7 separate regions of the Homo sapiens genome follow, and regions 1, 2, 3, 4, 6 and 7 are each linked to region 5. The links are contacts of gene promoters, found by promoter capture Hi-C in blood cells and fetal thymus (Javierre and others, 2016). All regions are on one chromosome and are shown on one strand. Each heading gives the region's core, a stretch centred on a gene start or on the middle of the fragment in contact. The rest is flanking DNA. Distances are from core to core; before and after follow the strand shown.

Evidence for each region. The method cuts DNA at HindIII sites, captures the fragments that hold promoters and counts their contacts. A CHiCAGO score of 5 or more calls a contact.
Region 1: a fragment that was not itself captured here is called in contact with the fragment with the promoter of TARBP1 in region 5 in 2 of 17 cell types (naive CD4 T cells and naive B cells); the score reaches 7.4 in naive CD4 T cells.
Region 2: a fragment that was not itself captured here is called in contact with the fragment with the promoter of TARBP1 in region 5 in 4 of 17 cell types (activated CD4 T cells, erythroblasts, non-activated CD4 T cells and 1 more); the score reaches 10.1 in activated CD4 T cells.
Region 3: a contact is called between a fragment that was not itself captured here and the fragment with the promoter of TARBP1 in region 5, in 6 of 17 cell types (erythroblasts, naive B cells, naive CD8 T cells and 3 more). The highest score is 9.3, in erythroblasts.
Region 4: a contact is called between the fragment with the promoter of TBCE here and the fragment with the promoter of TARBP1 in region 5, in 5 of 17 cell types (neutrophils, total CD4 T cells, naive CD8 T cells and 2 more). The highest score is 7.6, in neutrophils.
Region 6: a fragment that was not itself captured here is called in contact with the fragment with the promoter of TARBP1 in region 5 in 1 of 17 cell types (activated CD4 T cells); the score reaches 7.2 in activated CD4 T cells.
Region 7: a contact is called between a fragment that was not itself captured here and the fragment with the promoter of TARBP1 in region 5, in 1 of 17 cell types (activated CD4 T cells). The highest score is 9.0, in activated CD4 T cells.

Annotation. Positions count from the first base shown.
Region 1 is chr1:235,229,511-235,233,402 of GRCh38, forward strand. ARID4B (AT-rich interaction domain 4B) reads right to left here. Exons shown (of 24, transcript NM_016374.6): 10 at 1,603-1,679. Among named protein-coding and RNA genes, the nearest start is that of MIR4753, 41 kb to the left of the region's middle. The HindIII fragment of the contact is 4,902 bases long and covers 168-3,892 here.
Region 2 is chr1:235,178,839-235,182,601 of GRCh38, forward strand. ARID4B (AT-rich interaction domain 4B) reads right to left here. Exons shown (of 24, transcript NM_016374.6): 20 at 2,747-3,763. Among named protein-coding and RNA genes, the nearest start is that of MIR4753, 9.4 kb to the right of the region's middle. The HindIII fragment of the contact is 692 bases long and covers 1,876-2,567 here.
Region 3 is chr1:235,197,279-235,201,303 of GRCh38, forward strand. All of the region lies in intron 17 of ARID4B (AT-rich interaction domain 4B), which reads right to left. Among named protein-coding and RNA genes, the nearest start is that of MIR4753, 9.2 kb to the left of the region's middle. The HindIII fragment of the contact is 1,625 bases long and covers 819-2,443 here.
Region 4 is chr1:235,365,700-235,369,652 of GRCh38, forward strand. TBCE (tubulin folding cofactor E) reads left to right here and starts at 1,728. Exons shown (of 17, transcript NM_003193.5): 1 at 1,728-1,805. LOC124904559 (a long non-coding RNA gene) reads right to left here and starts at 1,721. Exons shown (of 2, transcript XR_007066957.1): 1 at 1,511-1,721; 2 at 654-924. RefSeq lists enhancers at 1,435-2,148, 1,688-2,027. The HindIII fragment of the contact is 3,498 bases long and covers 1-1,739 here.
Region 5 is chr1:234,477,590-234,481,146 of GRCh38, forward strand. TARBP1 (tRNA guanosine 2 -O-methyltransferase TARBP1) reads right to left here and starts at 1,590. Exons shown (of 30, transcript NM_005646.4): 1 at 584-1,590. The coding sequence starts at 1,514. RefSeq lists silencers at 687-1,486, 1,517-1,706. The HindIII fragment of the contact is 13,603 bases long and covers 1-3,364 here.
Region 6 is chr1:235,452,141-235,456,155 of GRCh38, forward strand. B3GALNT2 (beta-1,3-N-acetylgalactosaminyltransferase 2) reads right to left here. Exons shown (of 12, transcript NM_152490.5): 9 at 3,419-3,544; 10 at 2,016-2,175; 11 at 950-1,006. TBCE (tubulin folding cofactor E) reads left to right here. Exons shown (of 17, transcript NM_003193.5): 17 at 1-303. Among named protein-coding and RNA genes, the nearest start is that of B3GALNT2, 50 kb to the right of the region's middle. The HindIII fragment of the contact is 1,018 bases long and covers 1,252-2,269 here.
Region 7 is chr1:235,470,914-235,474,450 of GRCh38, forward strand. It overlaps B3GALNT2 (beta-1,3-N-acetylgalactosaminyltransferase 2), which reads right to left. Exons shown (of 12, transcript NM_152490.5): 6 at 1-47. Among named protein-coding and RNA genes, the nearest start is that of B3GALNT2, 32 kb to the right of the region's middle. The HindIII fragment of the contact is 1,975 bases long and covers 1,202-3,176 here.

The DNA.
Region 1 (3,892 bases), core at 1,369-3,868, 750 kb after region 5:
GTACCAGAAACTGTGTTAAGTGCTTTTAAATGTAGCAATATATTTAATCCTATCCATCCTATGCATTAGGTAGTCATTTTATAGATGGCAAAACTGCCACCATTGGAAGATTACTTAAGTTTAAATAAATAAAAGAACAGCAGTTTTATTCTTTTAAACAAAGATTAAGCTTCACTAGTAAAAACCTTTAATACAGGAAATCATGTAATATCTTATGCAACAAACAATTATCAAACAGTATTAATACCAGGCACAGAGCCATTAAAATAAATATACAATACCTGAAAACTGACCACACATGATTTTTACATTTTCAGTTGAACTTCAATTAAAACTATGGTAACAATTACCTTCAACTAAAATTAGCTAGACACAATTATTCTCATTTTATAATATATGGGAATAAATTATATACCAAAAAATCTTGATGATTTTAACCAATCTACATAGCATATTACTGAATTCAAGGAATAAGGGCAAAGAGAAGACAACTATTTACAGTGCCAAAAATCAAGTGACAGATGCAATTACCACATATTCCTCAAATAAAACTACTGGAGCCTTGTGGTTAAGGATGTACATTCATTAGTGAGAAATACCAAACCAAAATTACTTTGATTCCTCAGTCAGGCGTGATGGCTTATGCCTGTAATCCCAGCACTTAGGAGGCCAAGGCGGGTGGACTGCCTGAGCTCAGGAGTTTGATACCAGCCTGGTCAATGGTGAAACTCTGTCTCTACTAAAAACACAAAAATTAGCCGGGCATAGTGGTGGGCCCCTATAGTCCCAGCTACTTGGGAGACTGAGGCAGGACAATCGCTTGAACCCGGGAGGTGGAGGGTGCACCGAGATTGTACCACTGCACTGCAACCTGGGCGACAGAGCAAGACTCCATCTCAAAAAAACAAAACAAAACAAAACAAAACAAAACAAAAAAAACAACAACACAAAGTTACTTTGATTCCTTTCTTCTACCATTCCCAGAAACTAATATTTTATTTACCAGGCAAAAGCTAGATTATAGTAACAGCTGACTACACAGTTCTCTCCCATTATTCTAGATTATTATGCCTGACTATAAGCTAAAAAAAAAAAAAAAAAAAAAACCAGAAAAAAAAAGGAAACCTATGGTTGGGCGCAGTGGCTCACACCTGTAATCCTAGCACTTCGGGAGGCTGAGGCAGGTGGACTGCCTGAGCTCAGGAGTTCGAGACCGGCCTGGGCAACACGGTGAAACCCCAGCTCTATTAAAATAACAAAAAATTAGCCGGGCATGGCGGCGTGTGCCTGTAGTCCCAGTTACTCGGGAGGCTGAGGCAAGAGAATTGCTTGAACCCAGGAGGCAGAGGTTGCAGTGAGCCGAGATTGCGCCACTCCACCCTGGGCGACAGAGCAAGACTCTGTCTCCAAAAAAAAAAAAGAAAAGGAAACTTATAACACAGAAGACACATGGGTTTATAAAAATAAAGGTCACAAGGAACCAAATATAACCATAAAAACATAATTTAAAGAAAAATTTTAAAGAGCAAAGAAAAATTTAATCTTCAAAAACACTTTAGCAGTTTTTACAGTACTTGTAATTTATTCCAAGATTATCCTTACCTTGCTTTAAAACAGCATCAGGCTTTGGTGCAGTGTCACTAGTAATTTCATGGACATCTTTTCTTGGAACTGAAGTACTATATATTTTTTTTAATTATAAGAGAAGAAAAAAAACCCAAAATATGACTGAGATTAATTAAGAATCCAGATGATTACATATCACAGAAAGATACTGAAAATATGGGAATGTTGACGTTTACAATAAAAGTGATTGCACACAGAGTAGCAAGTCAGAAATAACATACAAGACAGGATGTTAAAATACGTAATCATCTACAGAAGGATCCTACCATAAGAGCTATTTTATAAACACCAACGTGTTCCCAAATACCAGAGTCCCCTGCCCAAATGCAACACTGAAAACTTTTTTTGTTTTGTTTTGTTTTGTTTTTGAGACAGGGTCTCACTCTGTCATCCAGACTGGAGTGCAGTGGCACAATCTTGGCTCACCACAACCTCTACCTCCCAGGCTCAAGCGATTCTTCTGCCTCAACCTCCCGAGTAGCTGGGATTACAGGCACATGCCACTACCACCCGGCTAATTTTTGTATTTTTAGTAGAGACAGGGTTTCACCATGTTGGACAGGTTGGTCTTGAACTCCTAACCTCAACTGATCCACCCACCTCAGTCTCCCAAAGTACTGGGATTATAGGCATGAGCCACCACACCCGGCCAAAAACGATTTATGGCAATATAATGATAAAATGTTTGGGGCCAGCCATGGTGATTCATGCCTGTAATCCCAACACTTTGGGAGGTCAAGGTGGGAGGACTGCTTCATGCCAAAGTTCAAGACCAGGATAGGTAATATAGCGAGACCCAGTCTCCACAGACAAACTAAAAAAGTAAGCAAAGAATTAGCCAGGAGTGGTGGCATGTGCCTGTAGTCCCAGCTACTTGGGAGTCTGAGGCAGGGAGCTGACTGGAAAAAACCCAGGGCAGGGTTACAGTGAGCTATGATCGTGCCACTGCACTCTAGCGTAGGCAACAGAGCAAGATCCCATCTCTTAAAAAATAAAGGTTGAGCTGAGTGCAGTGGTTCACAACTGTAATCCCAGCACTTTGGGAAGCTGAGGCGAGTGGATCACCTGGGGTCAGGAGTTCAAGACCAGCCTGACCAACATGGTGAAACCCCATCTCTATTAAAAATATAAAAATTAGCTGGGTGTGGTGGTGCATGCCTGTAGTCCCAGCTACTCGAGAGGCTGAGGCAGGAGAATCGCTTGAACCTGGGAGGCGGAGGTTGCAGTGAGCTGAGATTGCGCCATTGCACTCCAGCCTGGGCAACAAGAGTGAAACTCCATCTCAAAAAAAAGTAAATAAAATAAAATAAATAAATAAATAAAGGTTGGACACAGTGGCTGACAACTGTAATCCCAACACTTTGGGGGCCAAAGTGGGCAGATCACTTGAACTCAGGAGTTCAAGACCAGCCTGGGCAACATGGCAAAAAAAAAAAACCCTACAAAAATTTGCCGAGCGTGGTGGCACACACCTGTAGTGCTAGCTACTTGGGAGGCTGCCAGAATACTAGTTACCACACTGTACATCAGATCCTGTACATTTTATTCATCTTACCAATAAAAGTTTGTGCCGTTTTACTAACGTTTTCCCATTTTCCTTACCCCCCAACAATTTAATATTAAGTCAATATTCAATTTCTGTGCTCAAATTCCTCTGATTATCCCAATTTTGTTAAAGTTGGTTCTACATTTTTTTTTGTTTTGTTTTGTTTTGTTTTGAGATGGAATCTTGTTGTTGTCACCCAGGCTGGAGTGCAATGGCATTATTTCTGCTCACGGCACCCTCCATCTCCCAGGTTCAAGCGATTCTCCTGCCTCAGCCTCCCTAGTAGCTGGAATTACAGGCGCCCACCACCATGCCTGGCTAATTTTTGTATTTTTAGTAGAGACGGAGTTTTGCCATGTTAGCCAGGCTGGTCTTGCACTCCTGACCTCATGATCCCACCTGCCTAGGCCTCCCAAAGTGCTGGGATTACAGGCGTGAGCCACCGCGCCCAGCCTACATACTGTTTTTGAAGCTAACTTTTCAGACTGGGTGCAGAGGCTCACGCCTGTAATCTCAGCATTTTGGGAGGCCAGGGCATTTGGATCGCTTGAGCTGAGGAGTTCGAGACCAGCCTGGCCAACATGGTGAAACCTTATCACTACAAAAAATACAAAAATAGCCAGGTGTAGTCCCAGCTACTCAAGAGAAATTGAGGTGAAAGGATAACCTGAGCCCAAAGGGTCATGGCTGCAGTGAGCCATGATCATGTCACTGCACTCC
Region 2 (3,763 bases), core at 972-3,471, 700 kb after region 5:
CTGCAACTTCCTAGCTTTTTTTTAATGGGTCATATAATCTTACTTACAACTTTTCCTAATACCTTTTTAAATTTTTAATATTTCTTTTTTATTTTTTACACCAAGTATGTGACCCACCTAATGTCATTTTAATATCACAATTTAAGTGAAACATAAAGGAGACGTAGATATTGACCATACTGAAGCACAGAACCATAATTGTCAGGTTTCTCTCCAAGAGAGTTTAATTCTAAAGTGTTCAGATACTAAGAAATAAAAACCTTCAATGTAGAGTAAATTAAGAGGAAAAAACTACATCTAAATAGTAAAACTTAAATTTTAACTTGTGATATAGTGGGGAGTCTCCAATATTCATAGTAAGTAAATTTATTAAAATGTGGCCATGTGAAACAGGTGCTTAAGAACCTATTTCTGGCTGGGCGCGGTGGCTCATGCCTGTAATTCCAGCACTTTGGGAGGCCAAGGTAGGTGGATTACCTGAGGTCAGGAGTTCGTAGACCAGCCTGGCCAACATGGCGAAACCCCATCTCTACTAAACAAAATACAAAAATTAGCCGGGCGTTAATCCCAGATACTCAGCAGGCTGAGGCAGGAGAATCTCTTGAACCTGAGAGGTGGAGGTTGCAGTGAACCAAGATTGCACCACTGCACTCCAGCCTGGGCAACAAGAGCAAAACTCTATGTCTCAAAAAAAAAAAAAAAAAAAAAAAAAAAACCCAACAAAAAGAAAAACACCAATTATTTCTAAAGAGATATAAATTACCCTAAATTTAGGAGTAGCTTTCAAATTCCACAATTATTAACCTAGTCAAGATTAAGATTCAAAAGGGCAGTGTTGACTTAGTCTATTAGCAGAGAAGATATCCTCTTTTTTTTTGTTGTTAATTTTAATCTTTTGTAAGATATTACGAACATAATAAGGATACAACCTCTTAAAAACTACAACAATAGGCTAGGCACGGTGGCTCATGCCTGTAATCCTAGCACTTTGGGAGGCCAAGGCAGGCAGATCATGAGGTCAAGAGATAGAGACCATCCTGGCTAACATGGCGAAATGCCATCTCTACTAAAAATACAAAAAATTAGCTGGGCATGGTGGCACACGCCTGTAGTCCCAGCTACTCAGCAGGCTGAGGCAGGGGAATCACTTGAACCCAGGAGACGGAGGTTGCAGTGAGCCCAGATCACACCACTGCACTCCAGCCTGGGCAACAGAGCGAGACTCCATCTCAAAAAAAAAACCCCCAAGAAAACCTATAACAATAAAACCTGTTTTTTTCTTTCTTTTCTTGTTTTTTCTTTTTTTTTTTTTTTTTTTTTTGAGACAGGGTCTTGTTTTATCACCCAGGCTGGAGTGCAGTGGCGTGATCTTGGCTCACTGCAGCCTTTCCGGGATCAAGTGATTCTCCCTCATCAGCCCCCAAGGTAGCTGGGACTACAGGCATGCGCCACCACAGCTGGCTGACGTTTGTATTTTTGGTAGAGATGGGGTTTTGCCATGTTGTCCAGGCTGGTCTTGAACTCCTGGACTCAAGCGATCCACCGCCTTGACCTCCCAGACCTCCCAAATTGCTGGGATTACAGGTGTGAGTGACCACACCTGGCCAGTAAAATCTTACTGTTGAAAGCCTAATATTCTGAAATAAAGGATTCTTTCATTTTGAAGATTAGTCATGCCTGGATAGTTCAGTTGCATGAGATAGTATGGCACAGATAAAATCATAGTAGTTATACTTGTAAATGTGAAAAAAAGCAAAGAACATTTCAATTTAATTGCAAGTATTTTTTTAATTTATTTTAAAACAGAAATGTTTTAAGTCAAGATTCCTGAGAAAACATAGAATTAACTAATTTGATCTAGACCATATCTCTTTAAGCTTTGCTGAAAACCTAAAGCTAGCATTCTAAAATCTTTTACGGTATATAAAAAACATACTCCAGTGCTCTGTCTTTACGATGGAAAAGTGTGTTCCAAAGCCAGGTGTCAGCCTAGAGTATACTGATTTAAAGATACCTGAATGAAGTGGTTTATAAGAAAAATGATGACAGAAGTATGGCTATGGCACCATCGAAAGGCACTAATACTTTGGGAAGGTACCGATTTGAATTTCCACTTTTAACAATTTCACGGAAAATCAAAAAAGTATTACTGTAGGTTATTAACGTACACATTGGTCCTTCAATTTGGAAGCTATGCATCTAAGAAAGCATCAAATTCCTTTACAAACTCACACAAGTTAGTCAGGCTTGAAAATCAGTTTGACACGGTTGTCTGAGGAAAGCAGTGCCTGGACAGTTGGTTGCTCCAAACCCCTACATACAGTATTTGGTTAAGGGTGGAGGGGTCTGTCAATAAATCAAAATGTTCGTGAGAAACTGCACATTACAATTGCAAAAACAATGTTACAGAAATAGATTTAAGCTGCTCATGCCATATAGTCAACCACTGCATATAATGAATTCTCAAACAGGTTTGGATTTGGGCCTGGGTGCAATTTCTAGCATGTGTTCTGGTCCACAATAAAATGCCATGGATGGCTCAAGCAAAGCACATTAAAGCCTTCTCAAGCTTTTAAATGCATTCCACTATTCATTTTCAAATTACCTTTAAAATTTCCATTTTTACCATGTTCACACAAATATGACACTTAATCGCCTCAGGTTATAACAAGAGATACTGTGAAATCATTGAAACTTTAAGAGGGGAAACCCTAAAATAAGTCAACATACACATTTTCCTTCTCACCTTTTTCAGGATGTTCTGGTTCTGGCTGATTACTACTGCTTGAGCTCACACTGGCATCAAAACCTGCTGGCGAGCTATTCCCTTCAGACTGGAGGTCTTGGAGCTCCCCAGCAACACTATCCACCTCAATTGTGCTATCAGTTTCACTCTTGATACTTCGAACCTCTTCTTGGTTTGGAGCCAGTGGTTCTGATACTGTTACAGAAGACTGCTGCCGGCTGCCTTCTGTTACAGTGACTGATGAAGGCGATTCAGGTGTAGTAGGAGGGGTATTTAGCACTGAATTACTGCCACTACTTGGAAATTCTGCTTTTCTGTCATTGACCTCTACTGTTTTTTCTTCAATGGGTTTACTATCGACATTGACTGGAGGTGGTTTTTCTAGTTCTACACTGGGTGAACAACTCTCCTCTTCAGCCACAGTCTGCAGTGACTCCTCTGCCACCCCCTCCTCTGGGGCAGGATGCGGTGGGGAAGCTGCAGCCTCAGTATCAGAGTCTGAAAAAAGCTCTTTCAGCGTTTTTTTAGGCCACTGTCCCTGAATACTTGACCAGACATCTTTTCGATCTTTGGCCCTGCTGTTTTGAAGTCTTTCATCAGAGTTATTTAAAAGTTTAATCCTTTTTTCTGCCACTTCTGAAAATCCTGAATAGAAACCAGTTGTCCGTAGAGATTTTCTTTTTTCCTCCAAACCATTGTATTTCTTAGTTGGTGTCATCTTTGCTTTTGTTTCTTCTTCATCTTCATCTGAAGAGCTGTTGCTACTGTTTTCCATGCAAAGTGATTCTTTGTTCTTGGCCTTCTCTTCCTTTTTGCCAGGTGATCCAGTTTTTAGACACTCTTCTGTATTGCAATACCTTCTTTTACCACGTTTTATTTGTGGTTTTGAAGATTTATCTGTTGTGTCCTTCTTGACATCCTTTCTCTTTTTTGTGACTTCATCTTCTTCATAATCAGTATCTTCGGATAATACTTCTATATCTTTCCTTAATCTTTCTGGAGATTTTGACACTGGTT
Region 3 (4,025 bases), core at 381-2,880, 720 kb after region 5:
CTGAAAACGAGCTTTTAAATTAAAATGTCCTCATTGTTAGAGGTATTAAAAGGAAGTAACAAAGTCCCCAAATCAAGAAGTAAATGACTTGAGTCATTACTTGACTAATAAATTATATTCTTACTCTAGCATAGGCCTGGAAAGTATCTGTAGCAAACTCCTGGGCAGTTACTCTGCTGGTACAAACTACTGGCTTGTAGCCAGTAAAAGCCAGAAAAGCTGAGGATTCATCCCCATGCAAGGGGTTCTGTTTATATGCTGGAAGATGCTGAGGGCCGTAATAAGAATAAGAGGGAATGGAATGAGCTTTAGGACAGACTTAACATAATCCCTGCTTCCTAGTTATGTGGTCCTGATCAACTCATTCTCAATCTAAGGCTTAGTTTATTTCTGTATAAAATAAGACTACAATTTAAAAACAAAATAAAAAATAATGGTACATACCATATATGGGTTTTTTTGTAGAAATATATGGTAAGTACTGGTGTAAGTACAAATATATGGTAAGTACTTTGAAAAGCTTTAAAGTAAGTATTCTTCTACTAAATACACTCCTTTTGGTACTTCTACCTGGCACTGTAGCATCTATCCATATATTTGCAGCAGTACTTTTACCTTTCCTATTAATATCGAAAATTGTATAATGCTTAGGAAAGCAATTTACTTCCTTCCAAAATCGGGGGCATGGTGGGAAACGAAAAGAAAACACCTCCATCCTCTGTAGATTTCAGTATGAACTCCTAGAAGTTGCTCTATTAGAAGAGTTATGGAAAGAAGAAGTCAAGATATCAACTTTGTTTTTAAAAGAAAACAAAACAAGCTTTCTAATTTTTTATGAGAGAAACTGAAGTCAGTTCATGATGGCTGCACATAACATTAATGTGAGCTAAACAAAGTTATAATCATGTTCTACCTTTCTTAACCAAAGGCTATCTGTTCTGTAGCTAGTTTTATACCAGACATGTTTTACTATCAATAAAAAACTGACTCAATTCAACCTGGGTTTTATTATCAATTATATTTTGAAGTAGGGTAAAATAGTAGTTTTCAATTTAAGAATACATGCATGATATTGCACATTTGTATATTTTACATGCAACACCAAACACATCAAACAAGGAAAAACAGTTACTGCCTCATGGGTAAGGCCACTGTGATAAAGGAAGATTCCTTTATTACTCAGATATAATGTATGTTGTTTAAATTCTCTTAAGAACAAGGTGGCAAGAACATACACATAAATAATAAAATGATGGATGCTTGGTATGGTACAGGCTGGGGCCCACTGCCTAAGCTCTGTAAATCCTATATGGTAATCATGTTCTCTTCTACTCAATTATAAAAGAAGGATGGTACAAGAGGACTGGATGTCAGAAAAATGTTAAGTAGTTGAGTTTAGATGTCAAAAGTGTGTTGGAGCAGGCAGGACACACACACAAAAATAAATTCTTAAATTAGATGAAACAAACTACATACATAGTTGTAATTAACAGTATGGCCTTACTATTCTGGAAAATTTTTGTTTTAAAATTCTCATGGGGCCGGGCGCAGTGGCTAACGCCTGTAATCCCAGCACTTTGGAAGGCTGAGGTGGACAGATCACCTGAGGTCAGGAGTTCGAGACCAGCCTGGCCAATATGGTGAAACCCTGTCTCTACAAAAACACAAAAATTAGCCAGGCATGATGGCGCATGCCTGTAATCCTAGCTACTCGGGAGGCTGAGGCTGGAGAATCGCTTCAACCCGGGAGGCGGAGGTTGCAGTGAGCCGAGATCGCGCCATTGCACTCCAGCCTGGGTGACAGAACAAGACTCCGTCTCAAAAAACAAAACAAAAAAAATTCTCATGGAATACTCTGTATGGTTTTAAGAAATTCCCTGAAAACTTACTATAGAGTAATAATGTAATCTAACAGCAAACATAATGTATAATAATATTACATTATATTTATAGATCTAACTTAACAGATCTATAAATATTAGCTAATATTATGACTCTTCTGTTATTTGGCTTCTTTCTATTCTACTTTCTCAGTGCTTTTATTTGTTTAATTCAGGCCCTTGTTTTGACACTAAGTTTTTGCATTTTTTTTTACCTTGCCAATTATGCTCTTTGTATAAAACACAGTTACACAATATTGTTACTGTTATCAAAACTAATAACTTTTAGAACTAGAGCATATCTTAAAAATTTATCAGGGCCTTTATTTCACAAGTTAAGAAATTCCAACAATGAAAGTGAAAGACAGTGCTTGCCAAAAAGCACTCCTGTGGAGAATTAGAGAAGAGAAGGAAATGGACTGCCCGGGAAAAGATTCTAACACGAAAATAACGGTAGGGGGCATTCCAGGCCCTATTCAGAGTAAGTTTAGTGAAGAGTGAGAGACCAGTGGCGTGAAGAGGAAGAAAAGGAGAAAATAACATGTGAGAATTTTGGTTGGGGAAGCTTTTTCGAATTACAAATGTCCTTACCAAATACAAGCTGAGATCACTGACACAAACATATTGGCAGACAAGTATTTCAAAACCTAATGAGACGTTAAATAGCACTTTAGTTGTCTGATAGATCTTACAAGAAAAATAAAGATGGTCAGAAGATTAAATAACTATAACTGATCATTGCTTTTAAAAATAAGAAATGTTCCTTCCGTATATGTAATTACCCATTACAATACTACCCAAGTGTTCCTTCTATTTTCTCTACAGGATATTTTCAAAGAATAGGGAAAAAAAAAAAAAAAAGCAAATTCATGTGGGGAGGCCGGGCACGGTGGCTCACACCTGTAATCCCAGAACTATGGGAGGCCCAGACAGGCAGATCACCCGAGGCCAGGAGTTCGAGACCAGCCTGGCCAACGTGGTGAAACTCCGTCTCTAACAAAAAGATAAAAATTAGGCCGGGCGCAGTGGCTCATGCCTGTAATCCCAGCACTTTGGGAGGCCGAGGCAGAGGTGGGCAGATCATGAGGTCAGGAGTTCGAGACCAGCCTGGCCAACATGGTGAAACCGTGTCTCTACTGAAAATACAAAAATCAGCCAGGCGTGGTAGCGGGCGCCTGTAGTCCTAGCTACTTGGGATGCTGAGGCAGGAGAAGAGCTTGAACCCGAGAGGCGGAGGTTGCAGTGAGCCGAGATCGCATGCCACGGTACCCTAGCCTGGGTGACAGAGCAAGACTCATCTCAAAAAAATAAAATTCATGCGGGGAAAAACTCTACATGAAAACCCCATATTTCCTACAGACATTAAAATTATATAAGAAAGAACGTCTTAGACTGGCATAATTACTGGTGCCAATTAATTTAAGAAAGCAATATTAGTGGGTCAAGATTTCTCATTCCTTACCAAAGAAGCACAGGCTTCAAAGAAGAATTTACTTCAGAACTACAACAAAAAGCTACAGTTAATCCTACTTCTTCTTTATAAATTTAGACTTTTAAAAATACAGTACATTTAGTATATATTAAAAAGAGACAACACCAAATTTACCTTAGACATAATAGATAAGAAAATAGTCAATGCAGATAGAAAATGGGAAATTTTAGCTCAAGTTCACATATCTTGAATTTCATAAAAAATTAAAATAGGCCAGGCCCGGTGGCTTATGCCTGTAATCCTAGCACTTTGGGAGGCCGAGGAGGGCGGATCACAAGATCAGGTGTTCAACACCAGCCTGGCCAACATAGTGAAACCCCGTCTCTAATAAAAATACAAAAAAAATTAGCTGGCTGTGGCGGCGGGCACCTGTAGTCCCAGATACTTGGGAGGCTGGGGTAGGAGAATCACTTGAACCCAGGAGGCAGAGGTGGCAGTGAGCCAAGATCGCACCACTGTGCTCCAGCCTGGGTGACACAGCGAGACTCTGTCTCCAAAAAAAATAAAATAAATAAAAATAAAGTAAAACAAAATAACTGGAAAGGAAGTGGCAAAGAGTGAAACTGCAGCTAAGAAATAGAAGGCCATAAAATATTTCTCAATTTCTCCTTGGGGTACCACGTCAAGTAAGATATCTATTCATCCCCGAAAGT
Region 4 (3,953 bases), core at 478-2,977, 890 kb after region 5:
AACTCAACGTCCTGAGTAGCTGGGACTACAGGCACCTACCACCACGCCTGGCTAATTTTTGTGTTTTTTTAGAGACAGGGTTTCGCCACATTGCCCAGGCTAGTTTTGAACTCTTGAGCTCAAGTGATCTGCTTGCCTCGGCCTCCCAAAATGCTGGGATTATAGGTGTGAGCCACCGTGCCCTGCTGAGGAGAGTCTTAGTTTGGGATCCATGGATTCCTTTGAGGCCTATTCATGGGCTTCAAAGGATTAATCAGTCCTTGAAATCATACGCAAAATTTGTGTGTAGGTAGATAGCTTTTATCAGATTTCCAATGTGGTTTTTAATCCCCTCTTCCAAAGAAAAAACAATCACTGTAATATCTAGTTTCTAGTTTCAAGGAGTGAACTATCAAAGTATAAAACAGTAGAGACATCCAGCAGGATACTGACTGTTTGTGTCCATTTAATATGACAATTAGAAGGTCACTTCTTGGAAGAGTCATTTGGCTTTGCTCCCTCAATTTCCTTTCCACTTCACCTCACTTCAGTCTGGTTTTGGAATGCTAACACTCACTCTACCCAAACTGCTCTTGTTGTGGAGTCTGTGGTATCCACCAATGGGTTCTTTCTGCCTGCTGCACAAACAAAATTAATTGACAGAAACCATGGCATTGCAGTAAAGAAAGTTTAATTGACGCGAGGCTGGCCATGCCACGTGGGAGACAGAGTTGTTACTCAAATCCATCTCACCAAAGGCTCAGAGGTTAGGGGGTTTTTCAGATAGTTTGACAGGTACGGGGCCAGGGAATGGGGAGTGCTGACTGGTTGGGTCAGAGGTGAAATCATAAGAAGTAGAAGCTGTCCTCTTGCACTGAGTTGGTTCGTGGATCCCCAGGTTGATGAGTCAGGGTGGGGCCATCCACTTGTCAGAAATGCAAAAACCTGAAAAGACATCTCAAAAGGCCAATCTTAGGTTCTACAACAGTGATGTTATCTGCAGGAATGATTGGGGAAGATGCGAATTTGTGACCTGTGGAATAATGGGTGGTAATCATTTAACTACAATTACAACTTAGAAGAATTCAGGACCCTCTCATTCTCCTAACTTGGTGGCCTTTCATTTAGTTTTAAAAGGGCAGTTTTGGGGAAGGGTTATTATCATTTAAACTATAAACTAAATTTCTCCCAAAGTTAGTTTGTCCTGTGCCCAGGAATGAGCAAAGACAGCCAGTCTGTGAGGCTAGAATCAAGATAGGAGTAAACCATGTCAGATTTCTCTTACTGTCAAAATTTTGCAAAGGCGGTTTCAACAGAAATTAACATGTCTAGGATAGTTGCTTTTTCTATTATTTTTTCTATCACTGCATTTACTTTCATTCTGCCTTATGCTTTAACTAGGTAATTTTTTTTTTTTTTTTAGTTTTGGCGGTATCAACACTATATTCTTCTCTTTGACCACCGCATGCTGCCTACGTGGTAGACTCTCAATACGCATGGAACTGAACCTCTTACAGGATTTGTAACTCACTTCTGTGGTATCTAGTAAACTGGAACACGCGCTTTCCCTGGGCTGCTCTGTCATCCCAGGTTTCAGCACTCGGAAATCGCTTGGGCCCCCGCCCAGAGGCGGGGCTTGGGTGGGCTGACCACTCCTCTGGCCTCCAATACTGTCGCTGACATTCTCGTCTATGCTCCAGCAGCCGTACCTCACTCCGGTGGAGGCGGGACTTCCTACAGCACTTCCGGCCAGAGCCTCAAGCTTCGCTGCTGGGCAGTTGGCTGGAGGGGCTGCTGCTGGGAACACCTGGAGTCTCCGCGGGCAGGTGAGCTTCAGAGGTTCGGGGAGCTTTCGGAACGAGCATTCCTGGCCGGTGCGTCACCCTGCAGTGCTCTTGGCCTTTTCTTCCTTTCCTGGAATCTTCCCAGATTGCCAGAGCCGGGCGTTGCCTGCTCCGTGCGCTGGGAGGCGGTCCAGCCGGCTGGGTTGGGGCCACCCTGCGCCTCCTGGAAGGCCTTATTTAGGAGTAGCCGCACGTGATCTCTAGCATTTTAAGCTTCTCTCAGAGAATTGGCATGTCACTTTGGAAGAGGTGAAAATGGTACAGGCGACCAACGACTTTTACAAGGTGTCACCTTAGAGGAACAGCCTCGTCCTTCCGAATCAGTTAACATTGGTGATGACAGAGAAATAACGTTAAATAGGTGGAGAGCACTTAAAGTAACTGTTTGTTCTTTTGAGACAGTCTTGCTCTGTCGCCCAGGCTGGACTGCAGTGGCGCGGATCTCTGATCTCGGCTTACTGCAACCTCCGCCTCCTGGGTTCAAGCGATTCTGCTGCCTCAGCCTCCCGAGTAGCTGGGATTACAGGCGCGTGCCACCACGCTCGGCTAATTTTTGTATTTTTAGTAGAGACAGGGTTTCTCCATGTTGGCCAGGCTGCTCTCGAACTCCTGATCTCAGATGATCCACCCGCCTCGGCCTCCCAAACTGCTGGGATTACAGGCGTGAGCCACCGCGCCCGGCCTAAAGTAACTATTTTTACTTGGTGTTTACTACCAAATGGGGACTGTTCTAAGTTGTGGGTGGATCCAAATGATGGTGTGACAGCCTTATCCTCAGAGAAGCAGTCCTGGCAGGAAGACGGGGTTAACAAATTGCCAAACTGTTAGAGAAAGTTAGTGGAGGTAGAGATGAAGAGAGAAGACTTTTCTTTTCTCTGGCATTAATTTAGCCACGGCCGCTGTGTTTTGATACTTGCTTCAAACGTTTTTCATATTCTTAAGTTTTAACTTTTCTGTATGCTCATATTTTATATACTGTTGTAAACAGCATATCTCTGGGTTTTTTTTTTAATCTAAGTGGACAGCCTGCTTTTTTTTTTTTTTTTTTTTTTTGATATGGAGTCTTGCTCTGTCGCCCAAGGCTGGTGTGCAGTGGCCCAATCTCAGCTCACTGCAACCACGCCTCCCAGGTTCAAGCATATCTCCCACCTCAGCCTCCCGAGTAGTTGGGATGACAGGTGTGTGCCACCATGCCCAGCTAATTTTTTTTTTTTTGTATTTGTAGTAGAGATGGGGTTTCGCCATGTTGGCCAGACTGGTTTTGAAGGCCTGACTTCAGGTGATCCACCTGCTTCAGCCTCCCAAAGTGCTGGGGCTACAGGTGTGAGCCACCGTGCCCAGCCCAGTCTGCCTTTTGACTAGCAGGTTTATTGGATTTACATTCATTGTCACTACTGAAATATTTGTCTAGATGAAAATCTTTGGTATCATCCCTGATTAATCTCTTCCATATATATCAGCAAATCCTATGGACTCTCCACCTTTAAAATCTGTCCACACTCCCAGGCTCTTGTTATCACCTTCACTTGTTCAAGTTACGTTGTCTCGTACTTGAATTACTGCAGTAGTTTCTGCTCTTTCCTCTTTTAGTCTGTTTGCATCACAGTATCTCGGTTGATCCTTTAAAAAAAAATCAGATTTATGTCTTTCCTCTCAAAAATCCTCCAAGGACTACACATTTCACCTGGAGTGAAAGCCAAAGTCGGCCGGGCGTGGTGGCTCATGCCTGTAATCCCAGCACTTTGGGAGGCCGAGGTGGGTGGATCACGAGGTCAAGAGGTCGAGACCATCCTGGCCAACATGGTGAAACCCCGTCTCTACTAAAAATACAAAAATTAGCCGGGCGTGGTGGTGCGTGCCTGTAATCTCAGCTACTCAGGAGGCTGAGGCAGAAGAATCGCTTGAACCCGGGAGACAGAGGATGCAGTGAGCCGAGATCGTGCCACTGCACTCCAGCCTGGCGATAGAGCAAGACTCTGTCTCAAAAAAAACAACAAAAACAAAAAAAACAAAAACTGGCTGGGCGCAGTGGCTCAAGCCTGTAATCCTGGCACTTTGGGAGGCCAAGACTGGTGGATCACCTGAGGTCAAGTGTTCAAGACCAGCCTGGCCAAAGTGGCGAAACCCCGT
Region 5 (3,557 bases), core at 340-2,839:
CAAACAGTTAAAAAATAAAATCTGATTCATTCTATTAAATCAATGGCAAAAATACACTCAAAAGGTCGACTTAAGAAACATGTTTAACAAATATTAGTAAATCCTGTTCCTAATTACCAGGGGAAATTTCAGAAGAGTGTGATGGCCTCTATGACGCTTAATTCTAACACTCAACACTCAATTCACTAATTCACTGGTCAGTACAGATAAATAACAAATAATTTTTCTTTCAACTTGATAGATATCAACCGTTTCTATTGGGTTGAATCTACCATGATATAGTGCAGATTTGGGTCTGTAAAATCTTGCACGGGCTCCATTATCTTCCTAAACTATTCCAGGGGTGCTGTATTCCACCGGCTCTGGGTTAGAACGTTCCCAACCGCAGTGATTTGTGACTTCAAAGAACACCCTCGAGAAGGGGTTCCAAAGGTTTTCAGGCTTTAGGGGAGCAACGCGGAATAACCAAATTCTGCATGGATCGGAGTGACGACCCCGATAAGCTAGTTTTTAGAAGCAGGAAGACTCCCCTCTGGGGCAGCCAAGTAGGTAGCACTAGGCTGGGGGGCAAAGAGGCAGGTACCGTTTCCTTCCTGGGGCCCGCAGGTGCAGTCGGCCCCCAGCTCCGCCGACACCTCCACCGCCCTCTGCAGCAGGTAGCGCGCTCGCTTGCGCGTCAGGGCGTCCGCCTGGCCCAGCCCCGCCTGCACCGTCCTCCAGAAGCGCCAGCAGCGCCGGGCGTCCGGGCCCGCCTCGCGCGCGCCGCGGGCGCGGTCGCCGCCGGGCTCGGGCAACAGCTTCTCGGCCAGGGCGCTCAGGACCAGCAGCTTCTCCTCTACGCGGCCGGACCCCAGGGACGCCCCAGGCGCGGCCAGCCCGCCCCACACGGCCCGCAGCGCCGCCCCGCCACATTGGACCAGCACTGGCAGCAGTCGCCCGGCCACCAGCGCCGCCGCGTCCTCGGCAGGCCCGGCCTCATCCCCGTCCCCGCCCCCGCCCAGCGCCAGGGCGACGGCGGTCCCCGCCACGCGCTCCAGTAGCGGCCCGTCCTCGCGGGGCCGCAAACATGGCCCGACGGCTGCTAGCACTTCCACGGCAGCCTCGGCGCCAGGCGCGCGCCACCCGGCGAGCAGATCGCGCAGCGCCTCCTCAGCCAGCGCGGCCGCCAGCTGCGGACGCCCGGCCAGGCGGACGCACGAGCGCAGGGCCGCGCCCGCCGCCCTCAGCACGCGCCGGCGGTGGCGAGGCTGCAGACTGGGGTCCGGGCCGCCCGCGGGGCGTCCGCGCAGGCTCCGCAGCAGTGGCACGAGGTACCCTGCAGCCACCTCGCGCGCCGCCTCCGGGAGCGCGCCTGCGCCCCCGCTGCCGCGCGCCTCCTCGTCCTCGAGCCGCTGCAGAAGGAAGCGCAGCGTCTCCACGCGCTCCGCGGATGCCTCCCCTTGGCACAGCGCCCCAAGCAGGGCCCGGGGGTCCCGGCTCTGCGAGAGCAGCGCTTCCGCGAGCACCCACTCCATTTGCCGAGCGCCCGCGCCACCGGCCCGGGCTCCCAAAGGAAGGCGCCGGCGTGTGCGATGCGTGCGCACAGGACCGGCCGGCCCCTACGTGCGCGTGCGCCGACGGAGCCGGGCGCGCGGCCGCAGAGAGGGGGATCCCAGCCCGGCTTGGTGCAGCTCAGCTTCCCTTGGGTTCCTGCCACCAACCCTGCCTAGATAGAACCCACCTGGTCTCTTATTTTTAGGAGAAACGAGGCCTTCGTTAAAAGTTAATGTAGTATCTACACCAGCTTCATCGATTCCTGATTGGAGGTTGGTCTGCCCAGGACCCTAAATCAGGCGTGCCTGTGAGCATAAACCAGTTCACAGAAGGTGCACAGCAGAATCACTTTAGATTATTTTCCAAACGTTGCATGATGGGCACCATCCACAAAGAGACTGACACAGTAGGTCTGAAATTGGTTCTGGACATCTGCATTAAAAATAAGTCATGAAAACACAAGAATGATTTAGACGTAAGGCCAGGAGTGAGAAGTGTTACCGGTGGAGGGTGTCCAGGTCCAAGAATTGGACAAAGCGCACAAACAAAGCAAAGACAGAATGAAGCCACAAAAGCAGAGATTTATTGCAAAAGTACACTCCACAGGGTGGGGGCAGACCCAAGCAAGCCGCTCAAGGGGGGCTGGTTACAGAATTTTCTGGGGTTTAAATACCTATAGAGGTTTCAATTGGTTACTTGGTGTACACACTATGTAACTGAAGAGGATAAAATGAAGTTACAAAGTTATTTACTTGGTGTACTCCCTATGTAAATGAAGAGGATATTTCCTGTCATAGCTGAAGTGTTTCTATCTGATTTGGTTCTAGGGAGTTTTTGGATTCCCTGCCTCCAGGCCCTATTCTCCTGCCTTAGAGGTACCTATAGCAATGTGCTAGGATTCAGCTAAAACCAAGATGCCCACGCCAGCCCTCACAGCCAAGTGCCCAAGATGACTCCAGGATGCAGAGCCTCCTGCACAATGCATGTGCTCCCATGTGCAAACTCAAAAATAGTCCCTGTGTCTGTCTTTTCTGTATTTCTGACAGCATCCATTGCTAAATAGAGAAACAGAAAACCTCACCTCGGCATGCATGGTGTGGATTTGGTTCCTGGCTCAATTTGAGACAAACTAGATCAGTGACATAGGGTTTTCTTCGCTACTAAACACAAAGATCTGCCTCTTAGTCAATAGAGAAAACAGGGTCCCAACTTCAAAGAGCTTGACATATAATAACATAATGGATAAGACAAAAATTAGTTATTTAAATTTACAGTTATTTTTATATAAAGTTATCTGACTTTAAGGTTATCTGACATTACACAGGCAAGACTTTTTTCATATTTCAGTCATTCCGTTTTTCATTGACAAAATGCATAAATGTTTCTATTTTAAGCCCTTTTAACATGTCAGTAAATATCAATTACCTTCAACATAAAATGTGCAGAAAACTATTGTTTCTGTCAACATATATCTAACAAATATAAATGGGTAAATGTCTTGAGCACTTAACAAACGAAGATACACAAATGATAAGCACTTGGAAAAGTGTTCAACATCATTAGTCATCAGAGAAATGCAAATTAAACCCACAATGAGGTACCACTTCATACTGATGAGAATGGCTAACATGTAAAAGCTCGAAAACACTAAACGGCAAAGACCAAGGGTGTGGAGCAACTGGAATTCTCATACATTACTGGTGGGCATGAAAACGGTACAGTCACTTTAGAAACTGTTTCTCGTAAAGTTATAATATAGCTGCTTTATGATTCAGCGATTTCACCCCCAGGTAATTACCTAAAATAAATGAAAACATGTTTCAAAAAAAAAAGCTTGCAGAAGAATGTTTTTGACAACATTATTCGTTATAGCCAAAAGCTTATAACAACCTAGTAGGTGTTAGGTAACAACCTACATGTGCATCAAATTGAAGAATGAATAAAAAATTGTGATCTATCTATATAATAATGCTCCCAGCAATAAGACAATGAATTGCTAATCCGCTTTACATGGATAAGTCTCA
Region 6 (4,015 bases), core at 511-3,010, 970 kb after region 5:
TAGCTGGGACCACAGGCGCCCGCCACTATGCCTGGCTAATTTTTTTTGTATTTTTAGTAGAGATGGGGTTTCACCGTGTTAGCCAGGATGGTCTCCATCTCCTGACCTCATGATCTGCCCGCCTCGGCCTTCTGTTGTTAAGTTTTAAAGCTGCAAATAATTTCTGATCAAATCTATGGAAACTGAGTTTTTTTGTAGGCAGGGGAACGTTGATTTATAACCTTTTGCTTTAAACTCAGAAAAATACTGTATGAGAAATAACCTAGTGGATTATTGTGAATTAAAGCAACAGCATAACTATTATGGTAGAAGATCCTCATTCTTTCTGCCCATGGTGTGATAAACATTACAGGTTGAGCATTCCAAATCTGAAAATTTGAAATCCAAAATGCTCCAAAATCCAAAACTTTTTTTTTTTTTTTGAGACAGGGTCTCTCTCACTCTGTTGCCCAGGTGGGAGTGCAGTGGTGCATTCACAGCTCCCTGCACCCTCGACCTCCCAGGCTCAAGTTGATCCTCCTACCTTAGCCTCCTGAGTAGCTGGGACCACAGGCAGGCGCTGCCATGCCCAGCTAATTTTTTTGTAGTTTTTGTAGAGACGGGGGGTTTCACCATGTTGCCCAGGCTGGTCTTGAACTCCTGGGCTCAAGTGATACACCCACCTTGGCCTCCCAAAGTGTTGGGATTACAGGCATGTGCCACTATGCCCAGCCCAAAACTTTTTGAGAGCCAACATGACACTCAAAGGAAATGCTCACTGAAGCATTTCAGATTTTCAGATTTGGAATGTGCAACTTCTAAGTATAATGCAATTATTCTAAAATCCAAAAAAATCTGAAATCCTAAATACTTCTGGTCCCAGGCATTTTGGATAAAGAACACTCAACCTGTATATAGAAATCCACCTCCTCAACTCTTAAGAACCCTGAGGCCATCCCCAAAGACTTACCTGGTATCTTTTAGGTCCTATGGCAGCCATCCAGATGCCCATGCTTACATCTTCACCCTATACATGGCCCATAAAGTTTAAATGTAAAAATTTTAATGCTATTTTATTTGTAAAGACAAAACCATAGCCACTCCCATCATAAACCACCTTTCTACTTTTTTGCTCTGTTATTATTCTAATATGAAATAGCAAAAATGGGTTCACATGAAGTCAAAGCTAGTGGTCTTTAATATGAAGCACCCCTGCCACAAGGTAATAAGATGAAACCGCGAGCAGACGACCCATCCTTCTCATGTACCTTAAGCTTCCAGGAAGCACTTAGGGCTTCCTCCTTAGGAATAAAAATCTTTCTATTCCTCCAGGGACTATACTTTTTTTTTTTTTGAGACAGAGTGTCCCTCTGTCGCCCAGGCTGGCATGCAGTGGCGCAATCTCAGCTCACTGCAAACTCCGCCTCCGGGTTCACATGATTCTCCTCCTCAGCCTCCCAAGTAGTTGGGAATATAGGTGTGCGCCCAGCTAATTTTTTGTATTTTTAGTAGAGATAGGGTTTTGCCATGTTGGCCAGGCTGGTTTTGAACTCCTAACCTCACGTGATCTGCCTGCCTTGGCGTCCGAAAGTGCTACAATTACAGGCATGAGCCACAGTGCCCAGCCTCCAGGGATGACACCTGTAAATACTAGCTGAAAACATAATAAGTAGGCTCAAAAAAGATTTAGGAATAGAATTTAAAGGCAAGATTTGAGGGATGTAGGGGTGCATCCTTAACCTTTGAGAGGTGATTCCTATACAGAGAATAACGTGCTTTTCCCCAAGGTAAGTGGGTTCTGCTTTCCATGATGGGATGCCGAGTGAGATGAAACTTGGTGTGATGAGTGTATACGTAGGTGGGAAATCCTTAATTTTTTGTTTTTATTTTATTTTTTATTATAGAGATGGGGTCTTGCTATGTTACCCAGGCTGGTCTTGAATTCCTGGGCTCAAGTGATCTACCCGCCTTAGCCTCCCAAAGTGTTGTGATTACTGGCAAGAGCCACCACGCCAAGCTAAGAAATTCTTAATTACCTGATAGGTCTTTAACCTCCCCGAGTTGCTTGCCAGCCACTTGACGATGTCCTTGGAGATCACATATCCTGACCCACATGCAAAGGCAGGGTAAGCGGGGCTCGGGTACTCCAACTCCTGCCACTTTCCGGTTCGGTCAACTGCCCAATTCAGTCTGAAACTGAGATGAAAAATAATGTGGCCTCTTGTGTTAGTCTGACACATATCCTGCCACTATTAAAACTTGACTCCTTTATCATCACTACAAAGGAATAAGCTTGTAGAAGTGAGGAAAGAAAATAAGAAAATTTCTTTTTTTTTGAGATGGAGTTTTGCTCTTGTTGCTCAGGCTGGAGTGTAGTGGTGCCATCTCGGCTCACTGCAACCTCTGCCTCCTGGGTTCAAGCAATTCTCCTGCCTCAGCCTCCCGAGTAGCTGGGATTACAGGCGCACACCATCATGACCAGCTAATTTTTTATATTTTTAGTAGAGACAGGGTTTTGCCATGTTGTCCAGGCTGGTCTTGAACTCCTGACTTTGGGTGATCCACCCTCCTCAGCCTCCCAAAGTGCTGGGATTACAGGCGTGAGCCACTGCCCTTCCAGAAAAAAATTTTCTTAATCTAAGGAAAGGAATTATCATTTATCCAGTGTTGTTTTAGATAAAAGATTGGTTATGTTAAATTTTCTCAAAGTTGCATTTGTAGAGTTTCTGAATGAAAAGCACTAGAAGATCACCCTGTGTTTTAGTATATATGAAAACAAAAAACCAAATCACTAATCCATATTGTATTCCTGAGGAAGCACAGAAAATGGTTTCAGAGACGTGTCACAAACGTACTCTAACAAAATATACAGTAGCTTCTAATGTGAATACCATTTATTTCTTTGGCATAAGAATAAAAGCCATATTGTTTTCCCTCCTTTACTACATTAGCCTGAGGCTTTTCATTTAAAAAATAATTTCCTCCAATTGTACAGTAATATAAAATTTATTATTATTATTAAGACAGGGTCTCCCTCTGTTGCCCAGGCTGGAGTGCAGTTGCAAAATCATAGCTCACTGCAGCCTCCAACTCCTGGGCTCAAGCAGTCTCCCTGCCTCAGCCTCTCAAGTAGCTAAGGGCTACAGGCTCACATCACCTTTTTAATTTTTTGTAGGGACAGGGTCTTGCAACGTTGCCCAGGCTAGTTTTGAACTCTTGGCCTCAAAGGATCCTCCCACCTCAGCCTTCCCAAAACTCTGGGATGACAGATGTGAGCCAGCATGACTGACCTAGAGTAATGAAATATATATAAACCCAGGAGTCTAGTACGAAATTGTATATCTCAACCACATTTTCAAAAAAAAAAGATATTTTATGCTTTATTAATTACATTTGATCAGGTACACGAATGCCAATGGGCTAAGAATGGTTAACTTACTTTCCCCACCAAAAATTAGGCCCATCCAGATTCTTTTGGACAATCCTATTAAATACAGCTTCGAGGTCTATGTAACAGTCATCATCTGTCTTCAGCAACAAATTGAAGCTCGTTGTTTCCACAGTCCTGTTGACACAAAAGGGATAAGAAAGTCAGTGCGACCAAACAAACAAACACCAATGCAGTGGCGTCACTAACACTTTCATTCAAAACTGTACCTGTCATTATCTAAATTTCTTATTCCTCAAATGTTGAGAACATTTGCTCTAACAAAATTTTGCTGCTATCAACTAAGGCCATCACTTGGTCTTTACTAAATGGCATAACACAGAGAAGTACTAACCTGATTTTAAAAGGCAAAGAAAGAGCATATTGAAGGAAAATATCTGGCTTAAATGGAACATATGTTCAAACAAATGCTTCTTAGGCATCATTCAACTCCTGCTGCCAAATCTATTAAACGCCTGAACCTTGCCCCGTGTGTTCTTAATAACAAAGGCCCAGCATAATGAATTAGGTGTTACATCTGGGCCTCTCACACAGAACGCTATTGTACAAGATGCATCCGATGCTATTTATATTACACTCAAAATATTT
Region 7 (3,537 bases), core at 939-3,438, 990 kb after region 5:
AGGCCGTGGAGGTCTTGGCTCTCCCACACGATTGTACCTTCAAAGCTCTTTTGTAGAAAGATGAATAGTGAGTCAATTTCCTTATTGCTGTCATTTAGGTTTTAAGTATGCTTTCAGGCAAGATTTTTAGAGAAAATTTTTCCCAAAACGTATCATTTAAAATTTTCACCCCATAACTCTGACATACCACTGTTAGCGTTTGGTGTGTATCCTTGACCGTTTTTTCCATGCACATATAAAAAACCAATTACAAAGAGTATATACACAATTTTGCATACTGCTGTTTGCCATTTCCCATTGTATCAAAAGCATTTCCTTATGTTGTTGCAGCTGTCACAGCCATTCTTCCTCATGTGTGTATAACATCCCAATGAGCAGATACACCCTGATTTACTCATTTTCCCCTACTATTAGACATTTGGTTGCTACTAAATGTCTACTAAAATATCTACTAAGTATCTACTAAAATAATGTAGGCATGTTTTGGTGTACATGTTTATTTACTCCTAACAATTTGTTTTGTACTTACATTCCCAGAGTGAAATTACTGGGACAAGAAAGAGATATTTTTATGGATTTTGGTATACACCGCCAACTGCTTTTTGAAAGCAACTTTTACTAATTTATAGGGTTATCAGCAATGTATGAGAATGACAACTGCACTGTATTCTCCCTGGTATGGGATACTAGTAAACAAAAGTTTAACCTAATATACTAGATTTTTACAAAATGATTCCTTATTTAGTTGGATTTATTTTTCAGTTTTTGACACAGAGCCTCGCTCTGCCACCCAGGCTGGAGTGCAATGGTGCGATCATGGCTCACTGCAACCTTCACTCTCCAGGTTTAAGCGATTCTCTTGCTTCAGCCTCCCGCGTAGCTGGGATTACAGGCGCTCACTATCACGCCCGGTTAATTTTTGGATATTTAGTAGAGACAGGGTTTCGCCATGTTGGCCAGGCTGGTCTGGAACTCCTGACCTCAAGTGATCTGCCCACCCTGGCCTCCCAAAGTGCTGGGATTACAGGCATGAGCCACGGCGCCCTGCCTGAATTTAAAAAAAAAAAAAAAAGATTGGCTTAGTTGGATTTCTGATTCCTAGTGATGTTTATGAATTGCATGTTCTCTTCTGAGGACTGCCTTATCATGCTGCTTTGCCATCTGCCCTCTGAGTTTTCTATTTTTCTTGTTCATCTATGCAAGCTTTTAATAAAGTAATTATCTTAATCCTGTGCACATTTTATATGCTAAAATAGTTTTTCATTTGCTACTTAATGCTATTTTTGAAATTCAGAAGTCCATAAATTTCACCTTGGCAAATCTGACAAACTTTTCCTTTGTGATTATTACTATTAAATTCTGAGCTGAGAGAGCTATGCCCCCCTGTCCCAAGGTCTGATATATATTGAAATCTTAATGTCTTCTAATTTCTCCATGATCCCATTTTTAATTCTGTGCACAGCTGGCTCCTTAGTCCTGCTCAGGTCTCAGCTCCACTACCTTCTCCTCCGAGAGGCTTTCTCCAGATGTCCTCCAGAAGGCTCCAACTCCCAACTTCTATCACATCAACCTGTTTTATCTTATTAATACCATTTATCACTCTGATATTTCTTATTTTATTTTATTATTAAACTAACTGCCTCTACTAGAAGACAAACACCTTGAGAACAGGAAGGAGCTTGCCTGATCAACCACTGCATCCCCAGCATCGAGCCTGGCCTGACATGACTGACAACTCAAAATGTTTGCTGAATAAATAATGTTGAACTAAAAATCAACCAGAATTGACTATAGTATAGAGGATTAAATGAAAGATATACCTCTAATACTCTAAAAACTTTCATGTTAAAATGAAGGGATAAAGTACTTTACAATAATGTCTCATTTTAGCCAGCAGTATAGGGAAACCATACAAAATTCAATTTGATAAGCTAGGTCAGTGGTTTATAAACATTTTTTTCCCTCTGCACAGAGTGATATAAACTTTTTCTTTTTTTTTATTTTTATTTTTTTGAGACGGAGTCTCACTCTGTAGCCCAGGCTGGAGTGCAGTGGCGTGATCTCTGCTCACTGCAAACCCCACCTCCCAGGTCCTGGTTCAAGTGATTCTCCTGCCTCAGCCTCCCAAGTAGCTGGGATTACAGGAATGTGCCACCATGCCTAGCTAATTTTTGTATTTTCAGTAGAGATGGGGTTTCACCATGTTGGCCAGGCTGGTCTTGAACTCCTGACCTAGTGATCTGCCTGCCTCAGCCTCCCAAAGTGCTAGGATTACGGGCGTGAGCCACCGCCCAACCTTTCCCTTCCTTTCTTTCCTTTTTTAAAATAAATAATATTTTTTTCCTCCTCCAAAACAGATAAAAATATTCCAAGAGTCCGGATTCCTCAGGCAGTTTATCGCTCTGTATTCAGCTAATGTATTTTCTTCTAAAACTTTAATAGTGATAGAGTTTGGAAGGATTGATAGCATATATACTTAGGATAAGGAACTGATAGGACTTGGTGAGTACCTGGACATGAGAGTGACGATAACTCTCATGATTCTGGTTTAGGTGACTTGAGGAAAAGGAGATGGTTACCCAAGATTAAAAATACAGGCGATGAGAACAGATGGGATGGAGACAATGTTACCATTAGAATGCCCATGGGACATTCAAGTGGAGAAGTTCAGGAGGCAACTCAAAGCATGTCTGGAGTTCACAAGAGATGCTGGGGCTGTAATTATAGATTTAACAGCCTTCAGCATACAGGCAGTAATGAATGAAATTGCCTGGGAAGAATGAGTAAAATAAAACAGAAGGCTAGGTAGCAAATCCTAATGATTAATATTTAAGAGGAAAGCAAAAAGGAAATAATGAATCATACCAAAAGTAAAAACTATAGTGACCAGATAAAAATCCTCACCTTGAAACTACAAATCTAGAAAAGATGATGATAAAACGAGTAATTCTCTGTACTGTCCATTCAATTGACATGACATGTGACATGCTATTTCACAGTGGGTCCTTCCTGGCACCCAACTCCATTTTGTCTGTGACTAGGCTATGATACAACAAACAAATTCAATGAATAATTGAATGTGTTACCAGAAAAATTCCCTAGTCCTCCCAAATCATCTTGACTTACTCATGGAACTTAAATAACCCATCAGCTGTTTTGTTACTAAGCAAGGAAGAAGCTTTATCTTCCACCTATCTCCTAAACCTGTTTCTGCTCCACAACACAGTTTAATTTCTATTCCTCACCTCTGCTCTCATACACCTACTTTTTATTCTGATGTAAGGCAATTATGAAGCCAGGTATCTCTTAAGATCCAAAACAACTTGTTTATGGCAATTCCCTTACTAAGATCATAAAAACCAAAATAAAAGTTGGGAAAAAATAGCATGATACAGGTTGGAAAAATGAGATATCATATCTATCTCTCCCATAACATAAGCAAGCTGTCTGTAACTCCTTTCACGCATCAACTCTTTTCCATAAAGCTTCTAATTTCTCATCCAAACAACAGAGTAGCTTAAATATATACAGTACTTC